Linked DNA regions of Homo sapiens: all the other regions are linked to region 3. Evidence: promoter capture Hi-C in 16 types of primary human blood cells and fetal thymus (Javierre and others, 2016). All regions are on one chromosome and are shown on one strand. The core of a region is centred on a gene start or on the middle of the fragment in contact, and the rest is flanking DNA. Distances in the headings are between cores, read along the strand shown.

Region 1 (2,825 bases), core at 5-2,504, 4.1 Mb before region 3:
TTTTGCTAGAGTTTTAATCATAAAAGGATGCTGGATTTTGTCAAATGCTTTTTCTGCATCTATTGAGATGATCATGTGATTTTTTAAAAATTCTGTTTATATGGTGTATCAGATTTATTGACTTGTGGATGTCAAACCATCCCTGTATCCCTGGTGTGAGACCCACTTGATCATGGTGGACTATCTTTTTGATATGCTTTTTGAAGGCAGTGTGAGAAACTGTTAGAATGGTTACCTCTACATATTGGGATGAGTTGTGGGTGAGGTTAGGAGGTGGGTGTTTGTGATTTTACTTTTTACACTTTAATATTGTTTGATTCTACTTTGTGCATTAATTTCAAAAAAGACTCTTTTAGAATGTCTAGCCATTCTGAAGGAAATACTCTTGGACTTTTGTTTGAGTTCTAATTTATATGTTATAGTATGAATTGCCAGGTTTTAAGCATTAGCATGCATTCTCTATTTTTGGCAATTTGGAAAAGAATCTTTTCAGTCATTTTTCAGACTCTTACTGAATCTTCCACAATATTTTATATTAAAAGTAAAGCTTTCAGTTATCATAGTCTTGATGTATTTTGAAGGGTTCATGGGCAAAATCAGTAATAGTTTGAGATTTCTAACATACTGTATTTTGTGGGCTTATAGATTAACAGAATAGTTTTTTTTCTTTTTTTAATCTTTTCATTTGTGTTAAAATCTGATTTTCTGTTCAAAGGTTGATGCCCAGCTACAGGTAGTAAGGAAACTGGAAGAGAAGGAGCATCTGTTACAGAGCAACATTGGCACAGGGGAGAAAGAGCTGGGTCTTAGGACCCAAGCCTTAGAGATGAATAAACGCAAGGTATGATTGATTAATCTAATGATGGTTAGTCTCAGTGGAACAAATAAGTATAACACTGTTGAGATTGTAAGTTCGCTTTATTCCTTCAACTTGGGCTAACATTTTGCCTCACTGGCAATAATAGGTGATACAATGGTGTCACTTATTTGTACATCCTACATAGGCAATGGAGGCAGCCCAGCTTGCAGATGACCTCAAAGCACAACTGGAGTTGGCTCAGAAGAAGCTACATGATTTTCAGGATGAGATCGTGGAGAACAGTGTTACCAAAGAAAAGGACATGTTCAATTTCAAACGAGCCCAGGTAAAAGCAGTTGTCTTTTCTTGTCACCTTTTAGGTGTTTTCTGAGGTCGGAAGTGACCCATATCATGAAAGAATCATTAGTCCAATGTATGTCATTTCCTACTAGACTTGAGGAAGTTTGTTGAGGGAAGAGAGTAAGTCTGTTTTCTTCACTGCCATATCCTCAGACTCTTTTATGGTGCCTTGCACCTAGTAGGCACAAAATAAATATTTGTTAAATTAATGAATTAGTAAATTGTTAAAGAAGTAACAGCATAGCAGCAGTAGAGGATTTTCAAGTTCTTGTATAATGTCTCTATTTTTGTCATGCTAGCTGTTTCTCATGATGTCTTTCTGTCTTTATCCGTAAGTCTCTGAATTATTTTAAACCGTTCTACCTTCAGCTTAAAACTAATTACTATAAAACAAAATAGACTGTCCTCTAAACTCTTAGATGTGTTTTCACAGGACTGAATTGGTAATAGATGCAATTCTAATTTGGGGATATAATTATGGTTGCCTCTTCTGAAACAAAAGAAAATATCCTGCCATTTGCAGTTCTCTACATTTCTACAAGATAATTGACCATAAAAGGATAGAAAGTCCCCTCTTTTCACAACAGAAAACTCAAGTCTATTATTTTTCTCAAAAATGATAGATTTGGGTAAGTGTGTCTAATGGGTATGCTATCCTGCCACAGGAGGACATCTCTAGACTTCGCAGGAAGCTGGAGACCACAAAGAAACCAGACAATGTACCCAAGTGTGATGAGATTCTGATGGAAGAGATTAAGGATTACAAGGTTAGAAAAAATGCCTTAGTGATTAGTTTTTTGTCAAAGCTTTAAGTGGCCTAATAGACTGGGAGAATAATTTGCATGATAGTAACCAGAGAATGGTTTATTTTGGAGGTTGGGGGGAAATGATGCTCTTTTTTTAGTGCCTTGTGGGTTTTCTTCTTGGTTGTGTAGTATATGAGAGCCATTTGGATCATAAACTTTCATGGTTGTTCAAACTCTGACATCTTTTCTTTTTAGGCACGCTTGACCTGTCCGTGCTGTAACATGCGTAAAAAGGATGCTGTTCTTACTAAGTGTTTTCATGTCTTCTGCTTTGAGTGTGTGAAGACACGCTATGACACCCGCCAGCGCAAATGTCCCAAGTGTAATGCTGCTTTTGGTGCCAATGATTTTCATCGCATCTACATTGGTTGATCTAAGTCAAGAGAAGAAGAGGAGCTGGCTAGTCAGGAACTTATTCATTAACCACCAAACCTCTACCTCTTCTCTCCTTGACTGTCACCTGTAGGACAGTTTATCAGTCAACTACCTTTCCTCCAGACTTTACTTCCAGGCTCTCCTCTTCAGTAGCTGGATGACTTTAGCAGAAAGGACTGGTAAATACAAGCCTTGGGTTTCAGAATGAATTAGAAACAAATAACTCTTACTGTCTTCCCTCCCAGCTTTGTTTATTTTGTGCTTTTAGACTTTTCAGTGTTTTCTTTTTCCAGCCCACTGTATAAACTTGGATTGTCCATTCCTCCTGAAGAAATCAAGTTGGTATTTTTGATGTGGAAAAGGGAACAAAAGTGGAAACATGGCTACTTTTGGGGAGTGATATTTTAAAAAATAAGTTGTCTATGGGCACAAAGTTTTCTTCATTTGTGTAGCAAACTTCTTGTGAATGTGGATTACAAAATGGT
Region 2 (2,700 bases), core at 190-2,689, 4.1 Mb before region 3:
CTCACGTAATAGGTTTCAATTTTGGCAAGAAAAGAACCTAGGAAATAAATCTTTCACACCATCTTTTCAGACTGTCACTATTAAGTGAAACCTGGTTAAAAAAGTTCTATTTCTTCTATTATGAACAACAGTGGAGGGTTATAGGAAAGGAAGGAGCACTGTGGGATGCCTTAATTTAAGGGAAAAGTGAATTAATGGGATAGAGAGAATTCCTTCTGCTCTAATGAGAGTGCCTACCCCACCCTCGTTATTGTGGTAACATAACTTAGTAGTCTGACATAGGGCTCTGGATCCTCCCATCCCTAGGAATTGTACAGTTTAAGAATATTGGAGCAAGACACCTGTGGCACTCACCTGGCTGGTGTGGAGCCAGTATTGCAGCTTGGATTTGTTTTTGATTCGTGGTAGCAGCAGCCTGTATACTATGTGCTCACCAATGGTGGTCAAAATGGACAGACCAAATCCAATGCACAGCAGCACAAAGAGCCCAGAGAAGTGTTTGATGCCCATTTGCAAAGTCTGTGACAGAATAGGAAAGAAAAGGCCATGAATACAATGATATACCTGGCCCAATGCTTGTGTACTCTTTGGTTTTCAGATGGATATTCATTTTTTCTGGACTCAAGGACAGCTGGAGACTATTTCTCCCTGTGTGTTCTGTGACCTTCATTATACATCATGAAAGAAATTCAGCCAGGGTTGGACTGAGGGCTGCCGAGGAGCACCCAATGCCTAGAGGGTGAGAAATAAAAATAAAATTAAAAGCTCTCCAACCGACTGAACGAACTTTCTCTTGTCCATGGGGACCCCGAAGAAACCTTAAAAACTGAGTTCCTGGCCTTGATTGGATGGGAGGTCTGTCATGCCTCAGTTGTCCCTTCCTTATTAACCTTTAGCCATAATTCATTCTTAAGAAGTAAGCAAAAGCTAGCTCTGGAAAACAAGAAACCGATAACTCATTGCTTTATCACCTTTAGCTAATCATCTAAGGCCATAACCAGATTCTCCCTCCCTCTTTGCAGTTTCAGTGTGACAGCTCACCAGTTTCCCAATGCACCCTTCCTAAAAAATGACCACAATCTCCAGATGGTTTTGGCCAACTTGTGGGGGATGCATAGTGAGGGTTTTCATGTCCTCTGCTTCACATTTGGACATCAGAAGACCAAAATCTCCACCCTCGGGTCATGCTAACACCACCATTTTTTGAACATGGGCCCAGGAAGAGGCATGAAGCTCAACTGCACATGTGCATGTATCTCTTTTCATAAATATTTATGACTCCTCCTATAGCTTACTCAATACGTATACTCAGCCACCCCACTCAGCATAAATTCCTGTTCCCTTTTACCCCTCCCTTGAAGTGCTTGCTCTCAGCTTCTGCTGAGGCTATGCTTCCCATTCTGCAGGATGGCTGGCCTGCTGGCTGCAACCCTTTATGAGAACTAAAGATCTCCTGGCCAAATTTATGAAGCTCATGATTCTTCAGTTGACAGGCGCTATTCGTATGTTAATCCACTGTGCAAATGGCCCCTGGAGTTGTGCCAAGGCCCTGGGTCTGGACCACCTTATGGTCTCTTAGAGATTGAGAGAGATAGAGATAGAGAATTGAAACAATTTAATATACCTGGTAGCTGTCAAGGAAAGAACGTCCCTCAGGGAAGAGAATGAGTAGATTTAAGGGGAAAAAGATGGTGAGTTCAGTAACTTTGGAATTTGGATCTGGTAGGGAACATGGAAATCATCTAGTTCATTTACAGAGGAGGAAAGTGAGACCAGAGAAGTGTAGTAAACCGAGCCAAGCCACAAAAAAGGCATAGAAGAGAAAGAGAAGGAACTTAATGATATTTATTGGTTGCTTACTTTCTGCCAAGTGTTTTACATTAAAATAGATATATAACGTCTATTTTATAACTAAGGAAAGTGGAGTTACTGCAACTTTTAAGTGGCAAAGTTGGTCTTTCAGTCCATTTCTGTTCAGCTCCAAAGCCTGGGCTCTTTCTGCTCTACTGCTATATACCAAAACAGCAGCAGTTATAGCAACAATAGTAGTTACAATAAATATCTGTGGCCAGCACTTTGCTAAGTGATTTGTGTAGATTAAGAAAACCCTCACATGTACTCTAAAACAGCCATTATTTAGCCATTGACATCAATGACAAGAGTCAATCCCGTAGAAGTAAAAATACATAATATATTGAGTTAATACTAGGTGCCAGGCACTCTTCTGCGTATCATGGGATAGAGATAGAAGGAAGTTATATCTTTCCTTTTAAACAGCTTGAGTCTAGGGAGAAAACAAACATATACCTCCATGATACATTTGATCCATGCTTCCTGGGATTTGTGGGGAAGCTGGTTCATGAGATAACATTTGAATAAGACAGGCAGGATGGGGAGGTTGGGTGGGGAAAGTGAACATACTAACCTGAGGGTAGCATAAACAAAGGAAAAAAGACATGACTTTCCTGGACAGTGGTATAGTGTTGTGAAACTGACTGCTGTGGCTGAAGGAAAAGTATACAAGGCATGAATAGTGCCATAGTTTGAATGTATATGTCCCTCTCAAACTCATATGTTTAAACCTAAACTCCAAGGGTTGGTATTAAGAGCCCTTATGAAGGGATGAGTGCCCTTATAAAAGGGCTTGAGGAAGCTAGCTAGTCCCTTTTGTTGCCCTTCCAGCCTTTCACCATGGGAGGA
Region 3 (2,783 bases), core at 88-2,587:
ATTTGAACAAGTCTATTCTTTCTTGATAAGTAATGAAGTGTAGAGATTTACTACAATTTTCCTACGTTTTAAACACTTAGTGTTTAGGGCAGTATTTCTGACATCCAGCAAAATGCTGGTTACATAGTAGGCACGCAAAAAACATTTTGTTAAATGAATTAAAATTAATGAATACATATTCAGATAAAAAAAATTCTCCTTTTGCAGTGCATACACCCGTGAAGCTGTCACCTACCTAGCAGCTAATCACGTTTCTCCAATTTCCTGGTGCCAGCATAATCTGTTCACACATCAAATAAGTGTGCCAAGCTAGTTTTTTTTCTTACCCAAACCTATTCCTTCTTGTTTCCTATTTATCAGAATGCAACCACAATCCTCCTACTCACCCGTTCCTCATTTTATTTGACAAATGCTTCCTTTCCCGCCTGTACAGACTGACACTCACTGACGATATTCTGCTTCTACCCATGTTTCCCACAATTGGTCTCAATTTCTGCTGCCACAGCCTCCACTACCTTTTGCTTGGACCAGTGAATACCCTCTGATTTTCCGTTGTCAGTCGCTTCTCATCAATCTATTCTTAATCTTGTTGCTTCGTTGCACCTCTACTCCCTCACCTTCCACCAAACAACCCAGTTAGCGTAGAGATTAGGAGAAGAGATTCTGGCTCTGAGCTTAACATAGTGATTGATCAAGAATTTAACCTCTGGAGCCAAACTGCCTGGCTTTGTCTGCCATTCGAGGACTTTTCCCAACCTCATTTCTCACTTTGTAGTCAACCCAAAACACCTCCCTCCATCTCCCACCTAGCTTGTGTTTCTCACTTAACTTTTAAAGTCCAGCTCACATGTCACTTTACTCACTTCCCAGAATTGTAATCTTCGTTTCGAACTGCTCTCGCACGGCAGCTATACTTCTCAGTACCTGCTTTTGTACCATTATGTGCGTTTTTTCTCTTTTTATAAAAAATCTCTTTCAGGGAACGCATAGTTCTTGAGGTCAGGATATTATTGTTTTATTTTTATATCTCCAGTAAGTCACAGTGTGACTTGCACTGTGGTTGCTCGATAAATGTTAGGTGAATGACATCAATTTACAGAAATAAATCCAACTCTGAGCGTCTCCCCTTGAGGACCGTGTTTTGTTCATCTGCACGCTCTCCAGGTCCTGCACTGCGCCCAGGACCAAGAAGACGCTGGACCCTTACTAGGAGAACCGAGGCAAGAGCCGGCTGGAGCCGCGGGGAACCCGCTCGCCCCGCCCACCCGCCTAGCGCCGGTGAGCCTGCGGCTCCCGCGAAGCGCGGCCCCGCCCCCTCGGCGCCAGGGCGCACGCGCGGAGCTGGAGCCGGCGCGGAGGAGCGGGCGGCCGCGGCTGTGCCCTCTCCTACTCCTCACCGCGCGAGCGCGGGGAACCAGTAGCCGCGGCTGCTTCGGTTGCCGCGGTCGGTGGTCGTTATGGATTCTCCATGGGACGAGTTGGCTCTGGCCTTCTCCCGCACGTCCATGTTTCCCTTTTTTGACATCGCGCACTATCTAGTGTCAGTGATGGCGGTGAAACGTCAGCCGGGTGAGTGCGGGGCGCCGCGGGCCGGACCCCTCAGAGTGCTCCTGACGGCGAGGACCGTCTAAGTCGGGTGGGTCGGGTGGGTCGGGTGGGCGGCTGAGTGGCCGCTAGCCCAGACAGTTCGATGGTAGAGTTGGAGGGGCGCCAAGGGCCGGTTGGTCTGACTTACTGAGTGCAGATGGGGAAACAGCGTGGGGGAGGACGGAGGCTCTAGTACTCCTCAAAGGAGGCGTGACCTGGGGTCCGCGAGGCCGTAGCCTGGGCGAGCAGGGCCGACCTTGCCAACCGCCCGCAGAAGTCCCAGGACTGACAGAAGCTGCCGCAGCGTTTCGGAACCACAGATATCCGCGCCAGCCCAGGGCTTGGGCGGCCTCCTCGCGGTACCGCCACTCGCTCGCAGTGTCGCCACTCGCTCGCAGTGTCGCCACTCGCTCGCAGTGTTTGAAAGTCATGTGAGGAGACAGCAGGTTTCTGACTCAGTCTCTTGGAGTAATAGATGGTTGCGGACTACTCTCCAGTTATGAAAGTTGTACAAGCACTGAAACAAAAAGCCTCCTGTAGCCAGACCAGGATTCCCCTTCACGCAGTGTCCTAACACCCTGCCTAGCATGTGAGAAGCGAGTGCGTTCCCCTTTTCACAGTCACGACGGACACTGTACAAGCAAGAGTTACCTGGCGTAGTTTCACTATCTGCAGAATGGGGATATAGTCTTGAAACAGCATTTTGAGTTCTTTTAGCAATGCGATCAAGGGACAGTAGTTGTATTTTATTGGATTTTACACCAGGGTGCGTTTGCTCTAATACTGCTTTACTTTTGTAGTTATTCTACTGTGCTTTTAGTTGTATGGACCTCTTCTTTCTTTGAGGTCAGACATTTCTTTGCCTACTTTCTTTGTGTTCTTGCTGTCTTTCATCTGCCTTGCCCTACGGATAGTTGATGAGTGAGGTCTGGAGGATGATGCTGTATCTTTCTTATGGACTACTTACTGGTTTTAAAAAATCCTTAGACCTCAGAAATATTTTTCATTTATGTTGAAGTTTGTAGCTCAGTTTAAATCGTTGGTACAAATTTTGACCTGGATGAGGATGGTATTACTGCATTAAAGTAGAACACATTATCTGCATAAGATATTATTTCTTTGATTTGAAAAAAGTAAGTTTTGTTGCTACTACATGTTCAGAATTTGATTAAAAAAATTTTTTTTTGTATAGGCTG
Region 4 (2,769 bases), core at 216-2,715, 3.4 Mb after region 3:
TAGTCCACAATATAGTCTGAGTTAGGAATTGTGTCACTAGATTACCTTTGAAATCTTTCCAATTCTAAAGCTCCCTGGTTTTGTAAGAGTAAGCTCAGGTTAATCCAAGCATCACAAATCTACGTCTCTCCCCTTCACGCGGTCAGCTGCTTTACTCCAGGCGGGAGGAGGTGTGCTGTGGTACACCAGTCCCTGCACAACAAAAGCAGTTACCTAAAAGTAAAGCGTGGAGAGGAAGAAGCACAGGCAGCTCAGCACCCAGTGCCTTGCACAAATTATACAGGAATCACCTGAACTGAGAGGCAGCACCAGCCAGTGAAGCAAGCTTTGTTTTAGGACTTGTAAGAAATCTAAGACACCCAAACCCCTCTTTGTCCCTAAGTAGCCCTAGCCTGGTAAGAGGTCACCTTTCCTATCTGCAGGATGGCAAGTTGGCCTAGAATCTCTAAGGTCCCTTCCAGCTCTGACATTCAGATGCGCAGAACTGAGGGTGGCCGAAGCACCCCCGCCCTCTCCAACCAGAAGTAAAACCAAGCCCCACTGCCATGCTCTGAGGCCTCTCTCTGCAAAGCGAAATAACGATTCTCAATCCAGGGCACTGTCCCCCTAAGAGGGCCTATTAGGATTGAAACAAGGCGAAAAGCAGGGAGGCTGTTTCAAATCACGCCCGCCCCCTTTTTGGAAGAATGTCCGCCAAATTCCTGAGGTGTGAGAAGGAAAGCGGAGACGGACGGTCACTGCAGCACAGGTGTGGCCCCTCGTCGCCCCTGCACCGGGAGGAACAGCTGCAGGATTGCACCCCAGAGCGCCGGGACCACGGGCGGGGGACGGGGGCGGACTGCCGCTCACTCACCCACAGGCTGCTGAAGTAGTCCAGCCCGCGGCAGATGAGCGTGGCAGCGTGCACCAGCAGCACCTGCACGCCCAAGTAGCTGCCGAGGCAGTAGAGGCCGTACAGGAGCGGGCCGCCGGCGCCGAGCAGCAGGAGCAGGCGGCGGCGGCGCAGCGCCTGCTCGCCCAGGGCCTCGACGCCGTAGTCGACGAAGCAGAGCGGCAGGAGCAGCGCGGCCAGGACGATGGGCGTGTGCGCGCGGTGCAGGCGCTGCAGCCAGTGGCGGCCCAGGCGCGTCAGCGAGCTCTTGAAGGGGTGCAGAAAAGTGCCGCATAGCACGGCCCAGAGCAGCGGCCGCAGGAAGGCCTCCAGGATGAAGTAGACCAGCACCGCGGCGCCGCAGCACAGGCACACGAACAGCACGGCCCCGGTGTTGTAGAAGGCCTGCTTAATGGGCTTGTCGAAGCGCAGCGCCAGCGCCGCGGTCCGCGGGGTCTCCCCGCCACCGCCACTCGGCCCGACCGCGCGCGGGACCCGCGGCGCCGGCCCGGGAGAGCTCCGCAGGCTTGGCGCGTCCTTAGGGCCGCCGCCGTCGGCCATCGTTCCTCCGCCACAGCCGCCCCCGAGGGGCGGTAATGGGAGTCGGGCTAGAAACGCGGGCGGGAGGCAGGGCGGGAGGCGCGCGAGATTGTGGGAGTTGTAGTTCCCCGCTGGTTTACAGACCCACCAAGCGCTTGCAGGAAACTACAACTCCCGAAGGGGAAATGGGGAAAACGCCTCCGCCTCCTTGGTGTCCGCAAGGTCCTGCTAACAAGTTTGCAGGGTCTATATCTTCCTGGAGGGGGGGGGGGGGGGAAGCTCCTTTCACTCATTCGTTAATGTCAATTTCTCGCGAGGCGAGATCCCAAAAGGCGCCACATTCAGATATTAAAACCCAAGCTGCATACTAGAATACCGTGGGGGAGTACTTTTAAAGAACCAATGCCCCGATTCTGTTTTACTGATTTATTTAACAGATATTTTTAAAGTGTTTTCTTTGGTGTATCTGACAGGATTTTAAATAGAGATTACCATATAACAGGCCCTATTCTAAGTGGCTCACTCCTATTAACTCATTTAATCCTTAGAACAACCCTACAAAGAAGGTGTTATTATCCTCATTTTACCAACAGAAAAACTGAGACAGAGCCGTTAAGTACGCAGCCAGAGTCACACAGCTACCAAGTGGCACAGGCAAGATTCAAACTCAGGGATTCTGGCTCCAAAGGCTATACTTTTATCTACCATAGTATTTGGCCTGAGGAAAGAACTCTTGGCATTTTTCAAACGTTCCTCATAAGCCTGTAATTTGCAGCCGCTGTTGACAACTGTTTGTGCAGGTTTCGCTGTGGACGCAATCTAAACTCTTAAAAGAGTCGTAGATCAAAGTCTCAAACTGCCACTGTTTCTTTTTGAGACTTGATGTAATGTCAGTTAAGCCCCCAATCTCAAGTTTTCCTCTGTCACATGGCGATGATAATAATAATAGCTTTTGCTTTAGGGTTATTGTGTGGGGGAAGGGAAACTCTGGGGCGGTACAAGGTGCTTCTGTTCCCCTATTGGAAAAGTGCTGGGATCCAAGCCTGCTACCCATAAAATATCCCAATCAACATTTTGATTTAAAAAAAAAAAGAAAGCCTTGACTGAGTACTCAACATGTGATTGCTTCAAACCTTGCAAGTTGTCCCTTTCCTGTTTCAATAGTATTCCTATTAATTTCTACATAATTTTTGTTTCCCTTCTAAAGCAGACAAGACAGGTAACATAATCCACAGTTTGCAGATAAAGAAACTATTGCTTGATAGATTTGGAGACAAAGGGATTTAGTAAAGGAAGTAAAGGAAAAAGTAATTCCCTATCCATCTCGATTGTAAGTTTTAGGTCTCAGTATTTCAGAT

The links. The method cuts DNA at HindIII sites, captures the fragments that hold promoters and counts their contacts. A CHiCAGO score of 5 or more calls a contact.
Region 1: a contact is called between a fragment that was not itself captured here and the fragment with the promoter of TMEM38B in region 3, in 1 of 17 cell types (total CD4 T cells). The highest score is 6.3, in total CD4 T cells.
Region 2: a contact is called between a fragment that was not itself captured here and the fragment with the promoter of TMEM38B in region 3, in 1 of 17 cell types (naive CD8 T cells). The highest score is 5.8, in naive CD8 T cells.
Region 4: a contact is called between the fragment with the promoter of TMEM245 here and the fragment with the promoter of TMEM38B in region 3, in 1 of 17 cell types (total CD4 T cells). The highest score is 7.6, in total CD4 T cells.

The regions. Positions count from the first base shown.
Region 1 is chr9:101,560,086-101,562,910 of GRCh38, forward strand. RNF20 (ring finger protein 20) reads left to right here. Exons shown (of 20, transcript NM_019592.7): 17 at 716-841; 18 at 1,005-1,145; 19 at 1,825-1,926; 20 at 2,161-2,825. The coding sequence ends at 2,337. Among named protein-coding and RNA genes, the nearest start is that of RNF20, 28 kb to the left of the region's middle. The HindIII fragment of the contact is 1,418 bases long and covers 546-1,963 here.
Region 2 is chr9:101,578,842-101,581,541 of GRCh38, forward strand. It overlaps GRIN3A (glutamate ionotropic receptor NMDA type subunit 3A), which reads right to left. Exons shown (of 9, transcript NM_133445.3): 7 at 355-519. Among named protein-coding and RNA genes, the nearest start is that of PPP3R2, 15 kb to the right of the region's middle. The HindIII fragment of the contact is 3,086 bases long and covers 1-2,700 here.
Region 3 is chr9:105,693,204-105,695,986 of GRCh38, forward strand. TMEM38B (transmembrane protein 38B) reads left to right here and starts at 1,338. Exons shown (of 6, transcript NM_018112.3): 1 at 1,338-1,569. The coding sequence starts at 1,458. RefSeq lists a silencer at 1,172-1,441. The HindIII fragment of the contact is 6,405 bases long and covers 1-2,783 here.
Region 4 is chr9:109,118,482-109,121,250 of GRCh38, forward strand. It overlaps TMEM245 (transmembrane protein 245), which reads right to left and starts at 1,466. Exons shown (of 18, transcript NM_032012.4): 1 at 854-1,466. The coding sequence starts at 1,432. RefSeq lists silencers at 796-905, 1,256-1,425, 1,566-1,615 and an enhancer at 1,096-1,145. The HindIII fragment of the contact is 5,277 bases long and covers 324-2,769 here.